Linked DNA regions of Homo sapiens: regions 2, 3 and 4 are each linked to region 1. The links are contacts of gene promoters, found by promoter capture Hi-C in blood cells and fetal thymus (Javierre and others, 2016). All regions are on one chromosome and are shown on one strand. Each heading gives the region's core, a stretch centred on a gene start or on the middle of the fragment in contact. The rest is flanking DNA. Distances are from core to core; before and after follow the strand shown.

What was found. Contacts are between HindIII fragments. The CHiCAGO score rates a contact against its expected background, and 5 or more counts as called.
Region 2: a contact is called between a fragment that was not itself captured here and the fragment with the promoter of MRPL46 in region 1, in 4 of 17 cell types (M2 macrophages, endothelial precursors, M1 macrophages and 1 more). The highest score is 19.9, in M2 macrophages.
Region 3: a fragment that was not itself captured here is called in contact with the fragment with the promoter of MRPL46 in region 1 in 4 of 17 cell types (endothelial precursors, M0 macrophages, M2 macrophages and 1 more); the score reaches 11.2 in endothelial precursors.
Region 4: a fragment that was not itself captured here is called in contact with the fragment with the promoter of MRPL46 in region 1 in 1 of 17 cell types (endothelial precursors); the score reaches 6.3 in endothelial precursors.

The regions. Positions count from the first base shown.
Region 1 is chr15:88,466,047-88,468,800 of GRCh38, forward strand. It overlaps MRPL46 (mitochondrial ribosomal protein L46), which reads right to left and starts at 1,342. Exons shown (of 4, transcript NM_022163.4): 1 at 1,104-1,342. The coding sequence starts at 1,331. It overlaps MRPS11 (mitochondrial ribosomal protein S11), which reads left to right and starts at 1,662. Exons shown (of 6, transcript NM_022839.5): 1 at 1,662-1,736; 2 at 1,862-1,978. The coding sequence starts at 1,672. RefSeq lists enhancers at 1-876, 1,343-1,512. The HindIII fragment of the contact is 6,788 bases long and covers 1-2,754 here.
Region 2 is chr15:85,863,779-85,866,532 of GRCh38, forward strand. No RefSeq gene overlaps it. Among named protein-coding and RNA genes, the nearest start is that of MIR548AP, 40 kb to the left of the region's middle. The HindIII fragment of the contact is 420 bases long and covers 1,105-1,524 here.
Region 3 is chr15:85,883,558-85,886,311 of GRCh38, forward strand. No RefSeq gene overlaps it. Among named protein-coding and RNA genes, the nearest start is that of MIR548AP, 59 kb to the left of the region's middle. The HindIII fragment of the contact is 623 bases long and covers 1,012-1,634 here.
Region 4 is chr15:86,232,656-86,235,409 of GRCh38, forward strand. All of the region lies in intron 6 of AGBL1 (AGBL carboxypeptidase 1), which reads left to right. Among named protein-coding and RNA genes, the nearest start is that of AGBL1-AS1, 83 kb to the right of the region's middle. The HindIII fragment of the contact is 1,821 bases long and covers 500-2,320 here.

The DNA.
Region 1 (2,754 bases), core at 92-2,591:
TGCCTGCTGACTCACCACAATCCAGTCATGTCAGTCTTTGATCAGAATCTCACTCACCAAGGACTTTCCTGTTCAGGGACTTTCAAGAGGTTGTTCCTTCTTCCTAGAATGTTTTTCCTCACATTCTTTCTTCTGGGAGAGTCCTACTCATCTTTCTGATTTCAATTTAAATATGACTGTCTCAGAGAGACATTTCTCATAAAGAGAAAAACCTGTATTCAGAAAGTCTGAGGCATTCCTTGACACTCACCATAAAATCAAAATGTGATGTATTTGTTAAACACTCTTATAGTGCCTTGTGTTTTCCTTAACAACACTTATCAGGGTCTGCATTTAGTTGTATGATTATTTGGTTACTGACTGATCCCCTCACTCAACTAGACTGAAGTACTCTGAGAACCAGAGCTACTTCTGCCTTATTCATTACAGCATCTCTATCACTTAACATACTCTCTGATGCATAGTATGGGCACAATGAACATCTGTAGGTTGAGTAACAAATATTTGTCAAGCGAGCGAGTAAATGAATAAATCAAGCAAAAAGCACAGAAGAGAAGTTTATAGTTCTCAACAGACCAAGACAAAAACATCTCGGATTCTGAGGAAACATATCACCCTTCAAACACTTTCTGTAGCGACCTCACACCTTCACAGCCACTACACTGTTTTTGCCCATGCTTCCTCACTTGCCCCTCACACAGATAGCCCCATGAGATAAAACAGAGTAGGCTTATCATAGGCATCTGACAGATGTGCCCACCGCCTCTTGTATTTCCTTCTTAACATTCATCACATCACAAAGACTTTCTCCCTCCAGACTTGTAAGCTCCTAGTGACACGGACCGATTCTTGTTCACCACAGGATCCCTATTGTGTTGCATGAACAAGAAGTAGAGTATCTCCAAAGAGTTGTCTAAGGTGACAATAAACACGGCCAATGAAAAGAAACCACTTTTTGTTGAACATCTATGTACCAAACCAAGTCAGTAAGGTAGGTACCATTCTGCGGATAAGTACCGTATACTTAAGTTCAGAGAGGTGAAATTACTCGCTCAAAGTCACGCAGAATAAACGTCACTCTGAACCCTGCATCTCAGTCCCACCTGCTGCAGTAGAGACGCCATCTCTTCCTGCAATGGGGTCAACGGCTTGGAGACTACAGGTGGCCGCTGCAGGCACAACGCGCCCAACAAGCGCCATGGGGATCCGTTGCTTGAGGGTGCGGCTGCAAGAGCCAGGCTGCGAGAGCTTAGACTGCCGGCCCAGAGCCTCTCGAACCGCCGCCAACCCCCCGCCACCCCTAACAGCGTCCGCCTTACGGGCGCCGCCATCTTTCGTTCTCCCACAATGCACCGCGGCTCCCAGGGATCCCTCAGCCGCGGGAGCGGCAAACTAGGGGAAAGCTCAGTCCCGGAACTGCTAGAACGAACCATTCGCATATGGAGGGGGTGACCCACCATCTCAGAACATTAAAAAAGGGAAAGAATCCCCTGGTGAACTACAGTGAAAGTCTTATTGAGCATTTAAATGGAAATAAAAATATTCAGTGGACCTAATGAAGAGTAGATGACTTTCCCTTCTGTCCCCTCCCCGACAGGCACTCATGGTACCGGCGCCGGCGCAGCTGTGACTGTCGCTGCAGACGGAAACTGACTGGGGTCAATTCAAGTCATGCAGGCTGTGAGAAACGCGGGGTCGCGGTTCCTGCGGTCCTGGACTTGGCCCCAGACAGCCGGGTAACAAATGACTGCCCCCTCGAGCCCACCGCCACCTCCAGGACTATGCTCCTACTCGTGTCCCTTGAGCCACCCGGGCCCCAGTGACCGTTAGGCCGTGGCCCTCACCGAGCTTTTCTTCCCAGCAGGGTCGTGGCCAGAACGCCGGCCGGGACCATCTGCACAGGCGCTCGACAGCTCCAAGACGCTGCGGCCAAGCAGAAAGTTGAACAGAACGCGGCTCCCAGCCACACCAAGTTCAGGTGAGCCCCACTTGGACCAGCCCTCTGGAGACCCGCAACCCCTGACTCTTGCCCGACACCCTCCAGAGTCAGAACCAGTGAATTTTCAGCTATGTCACTTGCTATCCGTGGGACCTTATGCAAATAAATCTGAGCCTCAGCCTTCTCATCTAAAAATGCGGATAATGCTGAGAGAGGTTGTGAGAATCAGATGAGCCGTGGTACAGAGTAAATGTTCAGTGAACATTCGTTAAATCAATGAGTGAATGTGAGATATCCATAACATGTATCAGCGTTCTTTTCTTCTGAGATGGAGATCTTTTCAGACCAATAACCTTCCCTGCCTCCAAAACAAAATGGGGAGGTAGAGGGCGCTAGCGATGGAACAGATGTTCCTGCACGTCTTACGGATGGTCCAGGGTGGGTTTTGTGCTCAGCCCTAGGAACTGGCATCTTGCTTCCCACCAGTGCCACCACCTCTGTATGCTGTATACACATCCACTTAACTTCACATCCATTTAACAAACATTTACCAAGAATCTACTATGAGTGAGACACCATGCTAGGTGCCGTGAATACAGATACAAAAGATCATTCCTCCCCACAAGTAGTTCACAGTCTTTGAGGGAAGACAAACATGCAAACATTTTAACCATAATCTGCTCAATAATATAATGGAGGTAAGCATTGGTTGGAAGTATGAAATCATAAGTGTCTAACTCCTGGCCGGGTGCAGTAGCTCATGCCTTTAATCCCAGCACTTTAGGCGGCCAAGGTGGGCGAATTACTTGAGGTCA
Region 2 (2,754 bases), core at 65-2,564, 2.6 Mb before region 1:
AAAGTAAAATTAAAAAAAAAAAAAAAGGCCTGTGTCTTTTTCAGTCAAACGTCTCTGCACAGGGTGGGGCCAAGCAACTGTGCCCATCCAAGCCTGAGCCGCACCACTCAGTGCCTGAAATCCCAGCCTAAGCCCACGTGGGTCTTTTCCCTGCACTACTGTGAGAACTTTGCTTTATCTCATGTCTAAGATAAACACCCAGGACATGTCTTGTAGAGATATACTCAGTCTCAGAAATGCTTGTGCCTACTCAAAGGGGGTGTGTTGGAAGGAGCCCTGGGAAGTGTCAGGCAGAGGTCTGATTGATTGTTGACTACCTACCCCATGCTTACCATATGTTTATGCCATTTTAGTCCTTAAAACAATGGTTCTCAAAGCATGGTAACCAGACCTGCAGCATCAGCGCTGCCTGGGAACTTATTAGAAATGCAGAGGTGGGAGGATCACTTGGGGTCAGGAGTTCAAGACCAGCCTGGCCAACATGGCAAAACCCCATCTCTGCTAAGAATACAAAAATTAGCTGGGCATGGTGGCATGTGCCGGTAGTCCTAGCTACTTGGGAGGCTGAGGCAGGAGAATTGCTTGAACACGGGAGGCAGAGGTTGCAGTGAGCCGAGATCTTGCCATTGCACTCCAGCCTGGGCAACACAGCCAGACTCTGTCTCAAAAAAAAAAAGAAATGCAGATGCTTGGGACCACCTGGGACCTGCTGAATCAGAGACTCTGGGGGAGGAGTCGGGGTAGAAATCTATGTTTTAACCCTTTAGATTATTCTGGGGCTTGCTCAAGTTTAAAACTGCTGCCTTAAAACATCCTCAGTCCTTAACATAATCCCCTATGTGTTATCACCACCATTCAGATAACAATCCCCAGGAGATGTCTAAGCTGCCCCAAGCAGAAAGTGGCACCTCAGTGCTGAAATGCAAACCCAAGTCCACCTAGCCTGAAAGTCCTCAGAGCTTCTTACCACATCCACCCTGCCTGCAAAGAAAATCTAGAAGCTAGTTTTTTTTCTGGCTCCTCCTCCCGCTCTCCTTCTAAGGTAGTCCACTCCCTCCTCTTTCTCACTGTCTCTGATCGTGACCCTCCCACACCTGCTTTCAAAGCTTTGTCTGTGAACCAATTAGAGGTTTGAAAAGCTGGTATCAGAAGTGCCCAGTATCATTTTTATGAGACTTCATGAATAAGAAAACAATGCCAACAAGTCAATATTGCGTGCAAATGTCAGTAAATTCCCACTCAATGGCTCCCTAGCCTGAATTTTGCAGAGTGAAATCGATGCAAGTTTTGTCAGGCCTGCTGACTTTAAAGGCGGAGGACCCTGTGCATCCAGAGAACCCACTGAAGGATGTAGGCTGCATCGTCACTCACTCTGGAAGGAAGTTAACAAAAGTACTTACACCTTTAACCTCCAGGGCATTCCTTCCCAGGCTGTGGAGGGGGGCTCCTTAGCCTGCAGTGACCTGGAATATGTTTCCAACTTTGCAGAAGTGCTGAGATCCACAAGATGGCAGCAGCCGCTCAAGCTTCGCACAGGGTCCCTGCTGCTTTTGTAATTCCCAAATTAAAAACCAAACCAAACCAAACCAAACGTACATCTGCAATCTGGAAGACGCCAGGAAAGATCATTCATTCTAGGCCTGCCCCCTTTACATCCAGAACTGTCCACATCAGAATCAATGTGAGCAAACTGCTTATAAAGGTCTTAGGGAAAAGGAATCTCAATTGTTGACTCAATTGATTCATTTATTTATTTACTTCTTTTTCCATCCTCCCAACTTTTCACTCTGAAAAGTTTCAAACCTATAGAAAAGCTGGAAGATGAACATCTTCTTGGTCTTCACTGGGATTCATCAAATTATCACATTTAGCCACATTTATTTCATCTTTCTCTCTCTTCCTCTGGATGAAAGCTTTGATAGTTGCAGACACCCTGACACTTTACCTCTCAATAATTCAACACGTCTTCTAAGAATAAAGACATTTCTTTATATAACCACAACATCACCATATCCAAGAACCTTAACATTGATACATTACTTAATTTATAATCACATTTAAATTGCCCCAACGGTCCCAGCAATGTTCTTTACAATAATTTTCTTTCTTTCCCTTCCTTCCTTCCTTCATTCCTTCCTTCCTTCCTTCCTTCCTTCCTTCCTTTCTTTCTCTCTGTCTTTCTTTCCTTCCTTCTTTGAGATGGAGTCTCACTCTGTGGCAGAGGCTGGAGTGCAGTGGTGTGATCTCAGCTCACTGCAGCCTCTACCTCCCAAGTAGCAGGGATTACAGGCGTGTGCCACCACACCTGGCTAATTTTTTTGTATTTGTAGTACAGATGGGGTTTCACCATGTCAGCTAGGCTGTTCTTGAACTCCTGACCTCCAATGATCCGACTGCCGCGGCCTCCCAAAGTGCTGGGATTACAGGTGTGAGCCACCTCGCCTGGCCTATAGTAATTTTCAATCCCCTGCTACAGAGTCCATTTGAGTATCACACCCTCATGTAGTTGTCATGTCACCTTTTTTGTAGAGCTCTCCTCCTCCGCTTTTGATCTTTTATGACATTGACATTTCTCAACAGTCCGGTTCATGTGTTTTGTAGAATGCCCAGCACTCTGGATTTGTCTTACTGATTCTGGATTATTAATCCAGGTTAAGTATCTTGGCAAGAATACTACCAGGGCAATCTGGCATCCTTCCTGTTACATCACTTCAGGCGGCACATGATGTCATGTGGTCCCATTACTGACGATGC
Region 3 (2,754 bases), core at 73-2,572, 2.6 Mb before region 1:
TAGTACAAGAACTGAGCTGGGAAGGTTGGTGCTGTTTTATAAGCAACTGGGAACATTCAAGGTTTATGAGGATGGGGCTGACTCTATGAATGGGGAAAAGGTGGAGTTGGTGGTGATGAGGTGTGGTGGGGTTGAATTGGGGAAATCATACACAGCTATCGTAATAGTTGAGGAAAAGAGAGTGAGTCTTGAGCTAGGAGACCGGTGTTGGGAATGGAAAGGAGAGGAGAGTTTCTGTGATAGAGTTCCTTTCCTCTGGGATTCCCAGCCTTTACATTAAAAACATCTCCAGACTTTAGCTTTTGTATCAAGCTGCCAGCTGCCTTGGAAATGATCCAAAGATAAGAGACATGTAATTCCAGGCTGTGATGGGGGTTAATGGCCTTGTGTACAATAGAAGTCCCAGAAATGAGGTTTGGTCTCAGACAAAGGAAGGAGAGAAAATAACTCGAGTTATTATAAAAGAAAACATCTCAGAGTTAGATTAAGAAAGTGGGACAAGGTGGGGTAATGAAGACTCTGCAAAGGAGTGCCTGGGAAGGAGGAGGGGCTGTGTGCTTCGGCAGAGGAAGAATAGATCCCTTGGATCTATTCCTGTATTTATATAGTTGATAAAGGGAATGCCTTTTAGAGAAGAAAATATTTAAGAAAAGATCCTGCTTGGTATAGAAGGTAAGATGTTGAAAGCATAGTTTATAGAGAGTCAAGACGCGAATTTCTTTGTATTATAAATAAATAGAAATTTGATGATGTGGGCGTAAAGAAGAGAGGAGCAGAGAGAAGATCAGAGGGGAATGTGGGGTAAATGCACCCAATAGCAATCATTTAAGCATACACTTAGAATGACCCTGCATGGCAGACACACCTGAATGTGTGTTCTGAGCTAGGGAATCTGGGAGTGGCCAACCCAGAGATTCATTCCTTATCCATGATGAACATCTGAGCCTACAGCTTACCCCATGGAACACGGGCTGTATAGGGAATTGAAGCCCTGAGTTTTGGGTTAAATGAAGCTTGCCAGGTGGAGGTCATTACGCAGAGGGTGTTAAATTAAAATGCTATATAAACTACATGTTATTTGCAGGTGGCTGTGGTTTTCCTGCCCAGCCCACTACCACTGGGCCGTAGATGAGATGGATATCTTGTCCAGCCCGCTGCCACTGGACCATTTCTGCAGGTAAGGGGGTCAAACCCACAGCCACTGGACCCTCTTCTCTGTAGGTAAGCTCCGTAATAAAGCCCTATGTCTCATGTGCTTGCTCTGGGTCTCTTCAGCCTCTTGAACCTGATGCCTTCTCTATTGAGGTTTACAGGGGTTCAGCACAATAGGGAGGGGAAGGTGTCAGAGCATTCTGGTGGGTTCTGGGGCTTTTAAGAATAGAGATGCTGCTACTCAGTTGGAAATGATTTGTATTTCTTTGATTGGAGCCCCTTTCCCTAGTGGCTTCATGAAAGTGTACTACCTTCAAAATCCTAGTGGGATATATTTCATAAAACAGTAACCACAGATGTGCTGGGTCCCATATCCAGGTTGATGCCATGGGGCAAGGGACTCCCTGTGAGGATGGGTGAGGTTGTCCATCTGCTGACTTGATTCAGCTGCAGAACTTGAATCTAGAAGGGACCCTGAAATAAGCTTTTTAAGAACACCCAGAAGTCATGGGGGAGGATCCTGGGTTTCCGCAGGTCAAGGAGTGAAGTTCTAGCTGGTAGTATCTGGTCCTTAAGTGTGGAGAGACCTCAGCTGGTGGCTGGATTACAGATCTGGGCTGTTCTGTTTTCTTCTGGGGTTTGGCTTGATTGTATATGGTGTACCAATTTGGAACGGCCACTACTCAATGCAGTGACCTCCAACCAGCTGAGCTCTGAAACTTGGGAATTCCTGGGCTGGCAAGGGAAGCCTGGATTCTGGGTCTGCTGTCTGTGGGTAAGAGTGTCAGGAGGCTGGAGCAGCAGGAGACGGTGCTGGCTGGCGCCGGTGTTCTGGGTCTTCCTTCCAAGCTGCAATCAGGATTCCTTTCCTGAGATTCCTCCGAATTGCCTGTCTCCAAAATGCATAAGATGTTTCTGAAATCAGTGCTTCTCAAACTTTAATGCGTACCAGTGTCACCTGGATGGCTCATTAGAACCACGTGCTGAGCCCCTTCCCCAGAGGTCTGGAAGTGAGGCCTGACAATTTGCATTTCTAACAAGTTCTCAGGTGATGCTGATGCTGCTGGTCTGGAAACCACACTGAGAATCCCTGTCCTAGACCAGCATTTCTCACTTTACTGTGCACAGGAATTACTTGGGTTTCTTATTAAAATGCAGGTTCTAATTCAGTAGGTTTGGGGTGAGACCTGAGAATTAGCATTTTGACCAGCTCCCAGGTAAAGCTGATGTATAAGGACCACCCTTTGAGTAGCACCACCCCCAGTCATGCTGCCTTTAGCCTCTGACTGGCTGAAGGTCAAATGTTTCTACTCCCCTAAGAATAAGTACTTCTGGCTGGACACAGTGGCTCATGCCTGTAATCCCAGCACTTTGGGAGGCTGAGGCAGGCAGATTGAGGTCAGGAGTTCGAAGCCAGCCTGGCCAATGTGGTGAAACCCCGTCTCTACTAAAAATACAAAAAAATTAGCTGGGCATGGTGGTGGGTGCCTGTAATCCCAGCTACTTGGGAGGCTAAGGCGGCAGAACTGCTTGAACTAGGGAGGCGAAGGTTGCAGTGAGCCGAGGTTGTGCCGCAGCACTTCAGTCTGGGCAACAGAGAGA
Region 4 (2,754 bases), core at 160-2,659, 2.2 Mb before region 1:
CAGGAGCACCCGGAGCTGCTTTTTCAGAGCTGCCTCTGGTGAATCCTAGAACATCTTGTAGTTACGTCTCCCCATTTCCCCTCTCGCTCTTTGATAACCTGTTATCTTCCTTGCCTGGTCAGGAAAACACCATGTAAGGACAATGCCCTCCTGCCTCCCCGCCCTGCATGTAGCCCTCATGCCGTGTCATAGTATATTTTGTGAACCTTTTACTGCCAGCCCTCAGCGAAGTGGGAAGGAGGGTAGGGAGTAGGGAGAGAATGAGTGTTTATTAGAGTACCTGCACTGAATAATGACTATCAATAATTACGGAGCACAGCACTTGCTAGGCACTTTACACATGGCATCTCATTCTCACTAGAGCCTGTAATATTATGATCCCCATTTTACATGCAAGGAAGGTGTAATCAGGAGAGGTTAGTGACTTGCCCAAGATCCCACACATGGTAAACGAAGAGCTAAAATTTGAACTCAGTTGTGACCATTTCCAAAGGAGAAAAGCTTCATATTTCAAAGATTATTCCCACCTTCCACATGGAGTCAGGAAACTGGACTCTGGGTTCAATGCAGCCATTGATTGGCTCTGTGACTTTAAACTAGTTCTTTGCTAGTTTAAATCTTACCAATTATCAAACTGAAATCAAACACTTGACTTCAGTTTGGTTTTTCAAACATGGGAGGGCTAGCCCAGGCGAGGAGATTAGAAATTCTTTAGTAGCAAAACCTTTTTTTTTTTTTTCTTGAACATAAAATCTTTTGAGGGAAATTGCATGCATAAAGCAAACAATGGGGAGTAAGGGGAGACCCCAATTAATGACAGCATGACTTGTCCTTTGCCCCTCCCTTTCCTTGCCTCTTGATAGGCATTGAGAAACACCCAAAGAAGTTCCTGAGGGGCCAGAAGAAATCAAGTTTGAAAACCTCTGAAGTAAATATACTCAAGGGACTCTTTCAGAGCCCAGTCTGTTGTTTGAGATTACAACTTAAAAAATGGGCTGACACTTTCCTTGGGAGGTTTGAAAATGTGTTAAATCTTACTATGCAGTGGCAAGAAGGAAGAACTAGTGAAGTTTGACCTGGAGGAAGATCCAAAATATTGTTCTCATCCTCCAGCCCTAGTCAAGTAAATTCTGAGTCTCTTGGGACTAACAGACCTAATGAAACAATTGAACTGAACCTGACCCAGTGAGGAGGGTCAGCTTCCAGTTGGGATTTTACTGGCAGGCAGGATGGGCAGTATAATTCCACCTTCCCAAGGTGGCCAGGGTGTTCCCAGGCACCCATTCTGGGTCCAACACAGCTGTGGATGGTGGTGTTGAGTTTTTCTTGTTTGAGACAAAACTCTTGGTCACATAAGATATTGTTGGGTTGTGATTGCCACTAATCCTAGTTCTTACACTCATGCAGGATGCTGTCTTTTATCAGGAGATCCTGTCAAGACTTAGTTCTATCTCAAGGGCTATTCCTCTGTCCTGTGTATCTGCTTGTAGGTTTCAGCCATGTTGTTTCTTTGACCATAGTATAAAAGTGCTCAAGGTGGCTTGGTGGCATGTGTGCAGAATGGTGTATGTTCCCTGTAAGCTCAGAACTCTTACTCCGAAAGAGTAAGTCACAAGGCCGAGAGCGGTGGCTCATGCCTCTAATCCCAGCACTTTGGGAGGCCAAGGTGGGCAGATCACAAGGTCAAGAGTTCCAGACCAGCCTGACCAATATGGTGAAATCCCGTCTCTACTAAAAATACAAAAATTAGCTGTGCGTGATGGCATGCACTTGTAGTCCCAGCTATTTGGGAGGCTGAGGCAGAAGAATTGCTTGAACTCTGGAGGCGGAGGTTGCAGTGAGCGAAGATCACACCACTGCACTCCAGCCTGGGCGACAGAGTGAGACTCTATCTCAAAAAAAAAAAAAAAAAAAAAAAGAGTAAGTCACAGTGGAGAATAGCACTTGCTCAGTGGTCACTGTGCAGGCTCTGGAAAGACTGTGTAGAGTTGAACTGTGGCCACTGTGGCATGTTTCTTAATGACTCTGTGCTACACTTCCCTCATCTGTAAAGCAGGGAAAACAGTACACTCCAAAGATAATTGGTAAGATTTAAACAAGGTGATGTTTAAAAGAGTGGGAGTACAGTACTGGATCTTGGTACATCTCAATAAAGATGAACTCTTGTTTTATTGTCATCACCATTTCAAAAGTCCTGGAGGTTTCAGGAAGTGATGATATAAGGGCATAAAGCCTGATGAAATGTAAATTTGTCTCCCAAGATCTTCCCCGAGGGTTGAATGATATCTGGTTGTTTTTAGAGTCTGTCTTTTTTTCAAGAAGCTTTTTCTGTAAAAGCGCCAGATGATAGTAAATATTTTACGGTTTGTGGATCAGACAGTTCTGTCACAGCTACTTAACTCTTCCCTTATAGGACAAAAACAGCAACAGACAACATATAAAGAAGTGAAAAACTTCATGAAAACGGGCTGTGGGCAATTTGCTGACCCCCTACTTTAGACTATGTGAGCCTCGGATCTGGGGACTCTGTTTTATTCTTATTTCTTAAGCTATTCTTCTTATTCTTATTTCTTATTCATTCTTCCTTATTTCTTAAGCTATTGACTCTAATGTGTTTTATAGAGTGGACACTCAGAGTAAGTTATCTAAATGAACAAAGGAATCAGTGAATAAGTGAATGCGTGCAGATTGAACCCTGCTCAATCAATCCGCATGCACTTGTTTTGTTTTACTCTAGGGAATCAAAGGTTAATA